Linked DNA regions of Homo sapiens: regions 1 and 3 are each linked to region 2. The links are contacts of gene promoters, found by promoter capture Hi-C in blood cells and fetal thymus (Javierre and others, 2016). All regions are on one chromosome and are shown on one strand. The core of a region is centred on a gene start or on the middle of the fragment in contact, and the rest is flanking DNA. Distances in the headings are between cores, read along the strand shown.

Region 1 (3,748 bases), core at 308-2,807, 150 kb before region 2:
TATATTTTACTATGGTGAAGTATTTACTTATTTATTTATCTTTTGAGACAAGGTCCCGCTCTGTCGCCCAGGCTGCAGTGCAGTGGTGTGATCTCAGCTCACTGCAACCTCGGCCTCCTGGGTTCAAGTGAGTCTCATGCCTCAGCTACCTAAATGGCTGGGGTTACAGGCACACGCCGCCATGCATGGCTAATTTTTGTATTTTTAGTGGAGACGGGTTTGCCATGTTGGCCAGGCTGGTCTCAAACTCCTGACCTCAAGTGATCCGCCTGCCTTAGCCTCCCAAAGTGCTGGGATTACAGGCATGAGCCACTGTGCCCGGTATACTATTGTGAAGTATTTAGATCTACTTATTTTACTGAAATATCTCACTAATGGAGCTAATAAAGCTATTCTTTACTGTGACTTTTGTTTATCTGATGGACAGAAATTGAGCTAGAATTATAACCAAGTAGACTAAGGATAATTTTTTAACAATTCATTGTAAGCTGTATCAAAATATATGTATTGATCACATACCATAAAAATAATCCTAAGGATTTCTTTCAATTTAGGTTTTTGAGACAGGGTCTTGCTCTGTCACCCAGGCTGGAATGGCTCAATCATAGCTCACTGCAGCCTCAAACTCTTAGGCTCAGGCGATCCTCCTGCCTCTGCCTCCCAAGTAGTTGGGACTATAGTCATGCGCCACCATGCTCAGCTAACTTTTTTATTTTTGTAGAGATGGAGTCTTACTGTGTTACCCAGGCTGGTCTTGAACTCCTGGCCTCAGTGATCCTTCCATCTTAAGCCTCCCAAAGTGCTAGGATTACAGGCATGAGTCACTACACCCAGCCAGGATTTCTTTCTAGAGTTTAGAACCAGTGATTCTCTTTTTTTGAAGAGAACTTTCTAGCTTCCTGAGACTTCAGAGACATGGAAAGTGTTGGTGTTCACAGAAGTGCTGTTTAGTGCCCATGTAAGGTAGGAAGCAACAGTTCTGACCCATCCTATAGATGAAAGACCATGACTTTTTTTTCCAGAAACATTTTAATAAAAATTGGCCATTTCCAAGAAACACCCACTGCATGCCCGTTAATAAAAGAGGACCATAACAAAATAGAAAATTTACCATATAGCTGTGATTTAAAATAGCTGTGATTTAAAGAGAAAATGTGGACACAAGCACATCAGCAAAGTCCAGTATTAAAGTCACATTCCGGCCAGGATCGGTGGCTCATGCCTGTAATCCCAGCACTTTGGGAGGCCGAGGCGGGTGGATCACCAGGTCAGGATATTGAGACCAGCCTGGCCAACATGGTGAAACCCATTCTCTATTAAAAATACAAAAAAAAATTAGCTGGGCTTGGTGGCGCACACCTGTAGTCCCAGCTGCTCGGGAGGCTGAGGCAGGAGAATCACTTGAACCCTGGAGGCAGAGGTTGCAGTGAGCCGAGATTGCACCACTGCACTCCAGCCTGGGCGACAGAGCGAGACTCCGCCTCAAAAAAAAAAAAAATACATACATACATACATACATACATAAAGTCACATTCCTTCTTATGGGCTATGATTAGGAATCTGATCAGATATCAGAGTAAAAATACAAATGCTGAACTATTTAGGTCAAAGAACCTCTATAGAAGCATCTGTCTTCAAAGGCATTCCAATTTGAGATCAATTTTAGAATAAGGCATAACACATATGTTAACAGAAGACATACAAGGTGATGAAAGAGGGATTCTACAATTCCCCACATACTCTGAACCTAATAAAACAAATCCAGATTTTTAAAAAATTACTTTTCTTTAAACAATTGCCAAGACTGAAATCAAAGAGAAATAGAAGGCACAACAATTTTGCTCTGGTTGTTATCTGGGTTTGGGGAATTTTTTCTTTTTTTTTTTTTCAAATACAAATTAAACATGAAAAAACTCTATTTCAAATAAACTAACAGTTCAAGAAAAGCCTATCAGTTGCATTCCAGACATTTAAAACCTATATCGCAGTTTAAATTTCAGTGGTAAAAACAGTAGGTTTTAGAATTGTTTTGTGATCCTATATCAAAAGAAAAATTCTATTCCTTTAATTCAGTTTTTAAACATACCAGTGAGAATCAAAATTGTCAAATTTTCCAATGACAAATTCTCCACACCAGAAGGTAGTCATGACTCTCAAAGAAGAAACAATTTGGGTTTTTCCTGCCTTCAAAATGTTATCAAGTCCTGTATTTCTCACAGGTTTTTGAAACACGTAGAAAACAAGAAATATTCCGATGAATGAAATATACCAAATGTCAGTAATATGCAAGACACATTCCTTTGGGGAAATGGCTGTTAAAAAAAAAATCCAGTCTGTATATGCAAAGTAAGCAAGGAAATTCAGTCTTTTTTTTTCTTCTTCTTCTTTAAAAATCTGTTACTCCTAAAATATCATTCCACAAAATTGGAAGTGAAAGACTAAAGGTCAGGGGCAAGGCGTGGTGGCTCACGCCTGTAATCCCAGCACTTTGGGAGGCCGAGGCGGGCGGATCACGAGGTCAGGAGATCGAGACCATCCTGGCTAACACAGTGAAACCCCGTCTCTACTAAAAATACAAAAAAAAATTTAGCCGAGCGTGGTGGTGGGTGCCTGTAGTCCCAGCTACTTGGGAGGTTGAGGCAGGAGAATGGCGTGAACCCCGGAGGCGGAGCTTGCAGTGAGCCGAGATTGCACCACTGCACTCCAGTCTGGGCGACAGAGCGAGACTCCGTCTCAAAAAAAAAAAAAAAAGTTCTAGGCCGGGCATGGTGGCTCACGCCTGTAATCCCACCACTTTGGGAAGCTGAGGCGGGCAGATCACTTGAGCCCGGGAGTTCAAGACCAGCCTGAGCAACATGTTGAAACCCTTTCTCTACAAAAAATTATCCGATTGTGGTGGCACATGCCTGTCGTCCCAGCTACCGGGAAGGTGGAGGTGTGAGGATCACCTGAGCCCGGGGAAGTCAAGGCTACAGTGAGCTGTCATTGCGGCAGTGCATTCCAGCCTGGGGGTCCAAGTGATACCCTGTCTCAAAAAAAAAAAAGTTGTGATAAATGATGTTGTTTGACTGTTTAAACACTAAGGCCCAGCTGATGAAACTTAAAATTTAGTCTTTTTTTTTTTTTTTTTTTTTGGTTAGAGTGTTAAAAGAAGCTTGTTCAGGTGATAACTTAGCCTCCAGAGTGGAACACAGGTTGCATGTGGAGGGAATTCTTATCACTGTGTTTGGCTGTAAAGAGTATATGAAGCCTGGTGTGGTGGCTCACGCCTGTAATCCCAGCACTCTGGGAGGCCAAGGCGGGAAGATCACCTGAGGTTACAAGTTCAAGGCCAACCTAGCCAACATGGTGAAACCCCATCAATACTAAAAAAAATTTTTAAAATTAGCTGCGCGTGATGGTACGCACCTGTAGTCCCAGCTACTTGGGAGGCTGAGGCAGGAGAATTGCTTGAACCCGGGAGGTGGATGTTGCAGTGAGCCAAGATCGCTCCACTGCATCCAGCCTAGGCATCAGAGTGAGACTCCATCTTAAAAAAAAAAAAAAAAAAAAGAGTAAATGAGGGCAAATACATGTATCATCAAGAACTGATTTTAGTACGATGGTTGACCATCAGCCTATCCTACTGAATCGCCTATGGAAATCAGTAAGGGAGCGCCATATCAATCCAGGTGTCAAGGATTGGTCTGTCATTGAAAAGGCCTTTGTTTTTATTGCTTTGAAGATCTCTGCAATGTGAGCAGTAAGG
Region 2 (3,617 bases), core at 576-3,075:
TGAATACCTTACGAGAGGGTGTGTAGAGGGCTGTAGGGACACAGACAAGCACATAGCCCCGCTTACAACAGGTGGGGACCATATTGATTTTTTGGGGAAAAGATGGCTTTCAGTAGAGGCTGTGCCACTTTCTTTCTTTCTTTTTTCTTTTTTTTTTTTTTTTTTTGAGATGGAGTCTTGCTCTGTCGCCCAGGCTGGAGTAGTACAGTGGGGCGATCTCGGCTCACTGCAAGCTCCACCTCCTGGGTTCACATCATTCTCCTGCCTCAGCCTCCCAAGTAGCGGGGACTACAGGCGTCCGCCACCACGCCCGGCTAATTTTTATATTTTTAGTAGAGACGGGGTTTCACCGTGTTAGCCAGGATGATCTCGATCTCTTGACCTCGTGATCCACCCGCCTCGGCCTCCCAAAGTGCTGGGATTACAGGCATGAGCCACCGTGCCCGGCCTAGGCTTTGCCACTTTCAAGATAGGTAATCTTGCAACAGGGTTGATTGTTTTTTGTTTTAATTTACTCTAAGCCCTACTCCTGATCTGTGATAATAGTGTAGTACAATTTCAAGGGTGGTTGTGAGGATTAAGAGAGATGAACATGGTCGGGCACAGTGGCTCACGCCTGTAATCCCAGCACTTTGGGAGGCCGAGGCGGGTGGATCACGAGGTCAGTTCGAGACCAACCTGACCAATATGGTGAACCCCGTGTCTATGAAAAATACAAAAATTAGCTGGGCATGGTGGCACGCACCTGTAATCCCAGCTACTCAGGAGGCTGAGGCAGGAGAATTGCTTGAACCTGGGAGGTAGAGTTTGCAGTGAGCCAAGATTGTGCCATTGCACTCCAGCCTGGGCAACAGAGCGAGACTCCGCCACAAAAAAAAAAAAAAAAAAAGAGAGAGAGATGAACATTCAAGTCCTAAGCCTTTAGGTCCTCACAATCTATGCTTGCTGAAGTGACCCGAACAAATGCAGATGGAGTGGGGTCGAGTGGGGGAAACGCTTTCTAGGGAGAGGGAACACCACATTCTAAGGCTACACATCCAGAAGGAGCTTGAGCAATCCAGGAAGGGCGCAGGGTGCGGTGGCTGATGGCCGGGGTGGCTGATGGCCTTGAGGACCAGCTAAGAAACTTGGATTATTTACTAACAAAAATAAAAGAGCCACCATTTGTTGAGGGTTTGCTCTGACATTTCCATCAAAACTACCTTAGCAAGGTAGATTTAATAAATCCAGTTGTATACAAAAGGGAAACACGAGAAGCCATAGAAGGGCTGCATACAGGTAGGTGACTTGATCAATTTCGTGTTTTACAAAGATCCCTTAGATCATGTGTTGGAGTGATAGGAGGTACTCTACCGACCTGCCTTGAACTCCATACTTTAAAAAATATATGACGTTTATCATTTCCTCTTTTACTCCACAATTTATACTCACTGTAGAAAATATTAAAAATATAAGAAAGTTTGAAGAAACAAAAAATTATTACTGGTACTTTCCAGAGACATCTCAATTGATACTTTTCTTCCAGTCTTTTTTTTTCTATGTAAAAAATATATAGTTATTAGAATGCCTGACAGAAGGAAGATGGAAAGAGACCACTGTGAAGCGTTCTTGATATTCCCTCTTCCCTTCCTCTCCATGTTATTAGGGCCATACCAAGAGGAGAGGCTGATTTCCCTACACGTGTCAGGGAAAGTCCCAACTCTGCGCAGTGACCCTCGCTTGCCATTTTCGCCGGTCTCTAGGGGGCGCTGCCCCGAGACTGGGTGGGGAGGGAAAGAAGGTGGTGCGAAAACGCGTTTGAACTTGGGTCCTGCCGCTGCCCGTAGCCGGCGTCCCCAACATGGCGGCTCCCCAAGACGTCCACGTCCGGATCTGTAACCAAGAGATTGTCAAATTTGACCTGGAGGTGAAGGCGCTTATTCAGGTACTGATCCCGGGACCCCTGCCGGGCTCCAGCAGCCCTAACCCAAGCTCTGCTGGTCTGTGAGCTTGGCAGTGTCACTCCCGAACTTTCCCCACTTGGTTTCCCAGACCACAGGCTCCGCCCCATGGTCGGCTACCCCCCCGGTCCCCATTTGGTTGTGTCCCGGTGACTGCTGGCCTTGATCCTTTTTCCGGGTGCCGCCGGATCTCCCATCCCCAGAGCACCCCACTGTTCTCCGCCCCTGACTCAGCTACTGCTTCGGGGCTCGGCTTTGCCCCTTCCACCTGCAGCCCTGGTCGTCGCCCCGCCCCTGACTACCTCACAACCTACCTGTCACCCTGCTTGGCCCCGCCCTCTGACGCTGCTTCAGCATCCTCTGGTAGCGTCCGGGAGGCAGCTAGCCCCGCCCCCTGCTGGCCAGCTCTCCTGGCATCCAAGGCCACCTGGCACGGGAGGCACCGGGTGAAACGAATGTAACCTGGACCGTAGTTGTGATTTTATGCTTGAGGAAATCGAGTACGGCGCCAAGGCCTAGGTTAGAAGGCATACCTGGGTCAGTGGCAAAACTGGGACCTGGACTGTGAAAGTCAACCTAGGAATAACACCTTAGAGTGTTACCCCGTTTGAACAGATAGGAAATGAAGTGTTTCGCCTTAAGCCATTTAAGGGTAGAGGTAAAATAAACGAGTGGACTTAGGCAAGAATTGGGAGTGTAGACACGGTTCCATGAGTTCAGCAAAAAGAAACCGAGTTTTAAACCTTGTTTTTGCTTGTTTGTTTTTGTTTTTTTGAGACGGAGTCTCGCTCTGTCGCCCAGGCTGGAGTGCAGTGGCGCGATCTCGACTCGCGGCAAGCTCCGCCTCCCGGGTTCCCGCCATTCTCCTGCCTCAGCCTCCTGAGTAGCTGGGACTACAGGCACCCGCCACCACGCCCGGCTAATTTTTGTGTTTTGCTTAGTAGAGACGGGGTTTCACCGTGTTAGCCAGGATGGTCTCGATCTCCTGACCTCGTGATCCGCCCGCCTCGGCCTCCCAAATTGCTGGGATTACAGGCGTGAGCCACCGCGCCCGGCCTAAACCTTGGTTTTTAAAAATAATCATTTTCAACAAAGTCACTAAACATTAGATGTAGACTCAGAGTTTGTAACAAGGTGTGGCAAAAAGTGCAGGAAAATAGGGCTCCCCAGATAAACCAGATGCAGAATAAACCAAATTAGATGCAGAATAAACAAATACGGTGCAAAGAAGTGTGATTAAATGAATAAGCCAGAGAAAAAGTGAAATTTGATGCAGATATTTAAAACTTCTTGAACTTCACTTCTCTGATGTATACATTACAAAACTTCTGGGCCAATTATAGAAAAATAAACAGGTTTCATACAAATGAAATTACATTTTCACATAATCTAAATTGCTTAGGCATTCTTCTGTACTCTTTCTAACATTTGGGTTCTTGTCATTGCTGATGAGAAAGACTGATTATAGCTGGATGTATTGCGTTCTTACCGTTTTCCAGCAGCTCTGCTAAGTGCTTTACATACATACATAATCTATGATGTTCTATGAGGTAAGTAGTGTTGTGATAAGGAAACTCAGACACAGAGAATTTAAATAACTTTCCAGGTAACTTTACACAGCTCATAAGTTGCTACAGCCAGGATTCGAATCCACCTGGTCTGTCTCCAGAGCCTGCC
Region 3 (4,019 bases), core at 377-2,876, 130 kb before region 2:
AAAATTTGATGTCAAAGACATGAAGAGTAGAATGATAGATATGAGAGACTGGGAAGGAAGGAAAGTTGTGGGAATAAAGAGTAGCACAATGGGTACAAACATGTGGGGTACCCGTAAAATGGGCACAAACATTAAACAGAGGAAATAAGTTTCTTCTATGTTTGATTGCAAAATAGGGTGACTATACTCAGCAACAGTACTTTGTGTATTTCATACTAACGGGAAGCGAGGACTTGAAATGATACCAACACAGAGAAATGGTAAATACGAAGAAAAAACAGTTTCTAAATACTGACCTGACCAAGAAAGGGGTCTTCATTCTTTCTTCTGGATATTCTTTAGTGAAGGCACCAAAGGCTTGTGTTGAACTTAATCAGTGCTCAGTGGATGGATTCTCATTTTCTGAATTCTCAATTTAGATTTAGCTAAATTAATGCCTTCTGAAATGTTCTCAGTTAAAATATTCCAGAAGGTCACTTTTTGAAGTGGGAACAGTAATCTGATCTGATTCCTGGTCTAGGATCTACTACTACCTAATTAGCATTGTGACCATAGGCCAATCACTTAGACTCTCTCTGCCTGTTTCCTAGTACAAGAATTAAATGAAAGGTTATATGTGAAATTGTGATATTGTGAAATACAAATTTAGTCTTTGTTCCCATTTCCTGGTATACAACTCCTAAAATCCTTAGAATCTCCAAAGTGACATGTGTCTTTGTATGCTAATGAGTTGACTGATGATTGGCAGCCCCTTGGTAGCTCCAGGATGGGATCTAATCACGAACCAAGGAAGGATTAGAGGGTTGGGACTTTCAGCCCCACAGCCCAACCATAGGGGAAGGGGGAGGGGCTGAACCTTAAACTGATCACCAATGGCCCGTGATGTAATCAATCATGCCTACACAATGAAGCTTCCATAAAAACCCAAAAGGATTGGGTTCTGAGAGGTTCAGGAAAGCTGGAAGCTATTCCTGGAGGCTGGTGTTCCCAGGAAGAGCATGAGAACTTTGTGCCCCTTTCCATAGCTCACCCTGTCCATCCCTTCATCAGTATCTTGTGTAGTATCTTTTGTTAGTTTGTTTGAGACAGTCTCACTCTGTCATCCAGGCTAAAGTGCAGTGGTGCGACCTTGGCTCACTGCAACCTCTGCCTCCCAGGTTCAAGTGATTCTCCTGCCTCACCCTCCCAAGTAGCTGGGACTACAGATGTGTGCCACCATGCCCAGCTGATTTTTGTATTTTTAGTAGAGACGGGTTTCACCATGTTGGCCAGGCTGATCTCGAACTCCTGGGCTCAAGTGATCCACCCGCCTTGGCCTCCCAGTGTCGAGATTACAGGCGTGAGCCACCATGCCCAGATTGTAGTATCTTTTATAGTAAACCAGAAAACGTGTTTCCCTGAGCTCCGCGAGCTGCTCTAGTAGATTAATTGAACCTAAGAAAGGTTAGAGCCTCCCCGATTTATAGCCAGTTGGTCAGAAGCACAGGTAGAACAACCTGGGGCTTGCGATTGGCATCAGAAGTGAGGGGCGGTCTTGTGGAACCAAGCCCTCACCCTGTGAGATCTGATGCTGATGCTACCTCCAGGCAGATAATGTCAGGATTGAATTGGAGGACACCCAGCTGGAGTCCGCTGCAGAATTGATTGTGTGCTTGTTGGTGGGGAGAAATCCCCACACATTTGGCTGTAGAAGTCTCTTCTGTGTTGATTATTGTGGTGTGAAAGCAGAGGAAAAGGAGTCAATGTTTTTTCCACTCTCAGAAATAGCATCAGTATATTTTAAAAGTTCCCTGAGTGATTATAATTTGCAGCTGGGGAGGAGAACCACTCCGCTACAACATCCTACAAAGTGCTGGGAAGTGGTGTTTTCATTCTGTGCTATATTCTTGGTAACAAAAGGAGATAGGGGCTAGTTTAAATTCTAATGGATTTTTTTAGTATTTCTAGGCATTGGCCAGTTGTCTCAGTCTCTTACGAAAGTGTTTTTTCAGGCAGCTTGTATTGCCTGCCGGGATTGGGGAAGTCCTTGGTTAGTTTGGAATTTTCCATGACTCTTAGCTCTGCACCATTAGCGTCAACTGCAGTCACAGAGCTTTTCAGTGTGTCCGCCTGTGCTGTTCTCTTCCTTTTTTTATAATGTCAGATGGATGATGTTGAACCTCAACTACAAGTCTTAGTATTGTGTTTGTGTTTAATACCCTACTTCTAAGGATGGATCAGAAAATCTCATCTGAATGAACTTTTTGTTTATTAAGTGAGTCAGCTTGAACTATCTGTTTTGGCCTGCTTTCCTCAGGTGTCATGTTTCCTGTCACAAAATCACCTTTTGTTTCTGTGGGCACAAGCTTCTGATATGGTGCTGGCTAATTCTCCAGCAATCTCTCCATTGGTGATCAGAATCAGCCTTTTGATCCTCTGATTGGAAAAGCTCTAAAAATGACAGTAAATGAAAGAAAAAAGATCCACCCGGATAATGGCCTAGTTGGGGCTTGGCTAGTTCCCCGCTTATAGGGAAATTTAAAGTCCTGAAAGCGTGAAAGGAGACTGCTGTAGTGATATATCCACTTACCCTTAGAAAGTGATTCCCTGCTGGGCGTGGTGGCTCACCCCTGTAATCCCAGCACTTTGGGAGGCCGAGGTGGGCGGATCACGTGAGATCAGGAGTGCGAGACCAGCCTTGCCAACATGGTGAAACCCCATCTTTACTAAAAATACAAAAATTAGCCGAGTGTGGTGGCAGGCGCCTGTAATCCCAACTACTCGGGAGGCTGAGGCGGGAGAATCGCTTGAACCCGGGAGGCAGAGGTTGCAGTGAGCCGAGATCGTGCCATCGCACTCCAGCCTGGGTGACGAGAGTGAGACTTCGTCTAAAAAAAAAAAAAAAAAAGCGATTCCTGGCCGGCTGCAGTGGCTCACGCCTGTAATCCCAGCACTTTGGGAGGCCAAGGTGGGCGGATCACAAGGTCAGGAGTTCGACACCAGCCTGGCCAACATAGTGAAACCTCTTCTCTACTAAAAATACAAAAATTAGCTGGGGATGGTGGCGCGTGCCTGTAATTCCAGCTACTCAGGAGGCTGAAGCAGGAGAATTGCTTGAACCCAGGAAGTGGAGGTTGTGGTGAGCTGAGATCGTGCCACTGCACTCCAGCCTGGACAACAGAACGAGACTCCTTCTCAAAAAAAAAAAAAAAAAAAAGAAAAGAAAAGAAAGGGATTCCCTAGATCCCAATGTACCATGCAGAAAGGATAGCAGTATGTTACCAAATTTCACTCTCCCAGATTGGTAGTTGGAGGTTGGTTGGGCTTGTTTACCTTAACCCTGCCCTCCTCCCCACACCACTGCCCACCAATGAAAGAAATTCAAATTCATACACAGTTGACCTTTGAATAACGTGGAAGTTAGAGGTTCCGATCCCCTGCACAGTTGAAAATCCATTTATAACTTTTGAATCCCCCCAGATTTAATTACTAATAGCCTACTGTTGATCAGGAGCTTTACCAATAACATAAACAGTCAATTAACACATAATTTGTATACGTATTATATCCCGTGTTCCTATAATAAAGGAAGGTAGAGAAAAGAAAATGTTAAGAAAATCATAAGGAAGAGAAAATATGTTTACTATTATATTAAGTGGAAGTGGATGAGCATAAAGGTCTTCATCCTTGTTGTCTTCACACTGAGTAGGCTGAGGAGGAGGAAGAAGAGGGCTTGGTCCTGCTGTCTCAGGTGTGGTAGAGGCAGAAGAGGTGGAGGAGGTGGAAAGGGAGGTGGAGGCAGGACAGGCAGGCATATGAGCAGGCCCAGGCATCCAAGTCGACCTGCATGGTTCAAACCCATGTTCAATGGTCAGCTGGATTTTGAGTAGGAACTAAAGGCAGTGTGTATTCTGCTTCATTCCCCTGTCTGTCTTCCTCCTTCCCTGACCACCCTGTCGAAATAATGCCCCGTCAAGCCACTCTCTATTCCTTCTCCTTGCTTGACTTCCTTCATAACAGTTATCACCTGACATTCTATT

Evidence for each region. Contacts are between HindIII fragments. The CHiCAGO score rates a contact against its expected background, and 5 or more counts as called.
Region 1: a fragment that was not itself captured here is called in contact with the fragment with the promoter of BNIP1 in region 2 in 9 of 17 cell types (naive CD4 T cells, naive CD8 T cells, M2 macrophages and 6 more); the score reaches 9.6 in naive CD4 T cells.
Region 3: a contact is called between a fragment that was not itself captured here and the fragment with the promoter of BNIP1 in region 2, in 2 of 17 cell types (monocytes and activated CD4 T cells). The highest score is 5.3, in monocytes.

What each region holds. Positions count from the first base shown.
Region 1 is chr5:172,995,078-172,998,825 of GRCh38, forward strand. The region is part of intron 2 of ATP6V0E1 (ATPase H+ transporting V0 subunit e1); the gene reads left to right. Among named protein-coding and RNA genes, the nearest start is that of ATP6V0E1, 13 kb to the left of the region's middle. The HindIII fragment of the contact is 3,189 bases long and covers 1-3,152 here.
Region 2 is chr5:173,142,706-173,146,322 of GRCh38, forward strand. BNIP1 (BCL2 interacting protein 1) reads left to right here and starts at 1,826. Exons shown (of 6, transcript NM_001205.3): 1 at 1,826-1,924. The coding sequence starts at 1,841. RefSeq lists enhancers at 2,019-2,547, 2,489-2,558. The HindIII fragment of the contact is 7,780 bases long and covers 1-3,617 here.
Region 3 is chr5:173,014,665-173,018,683 of GRCh38, forward strand. All of the region lies in intron 2 of ATP6V0E1 (ATPase H+ transporting V0 subunit e1), which reads left to right. Among named protein-coding and RNA genes, the nearest start is that of SNORA74B, 4.1 kb to the right of the region's middle. RefSeq lists an enhancer at 2,787-3,330. The HindIII fragment of the contact is 1,434 bases long and covers 910-2,343 here.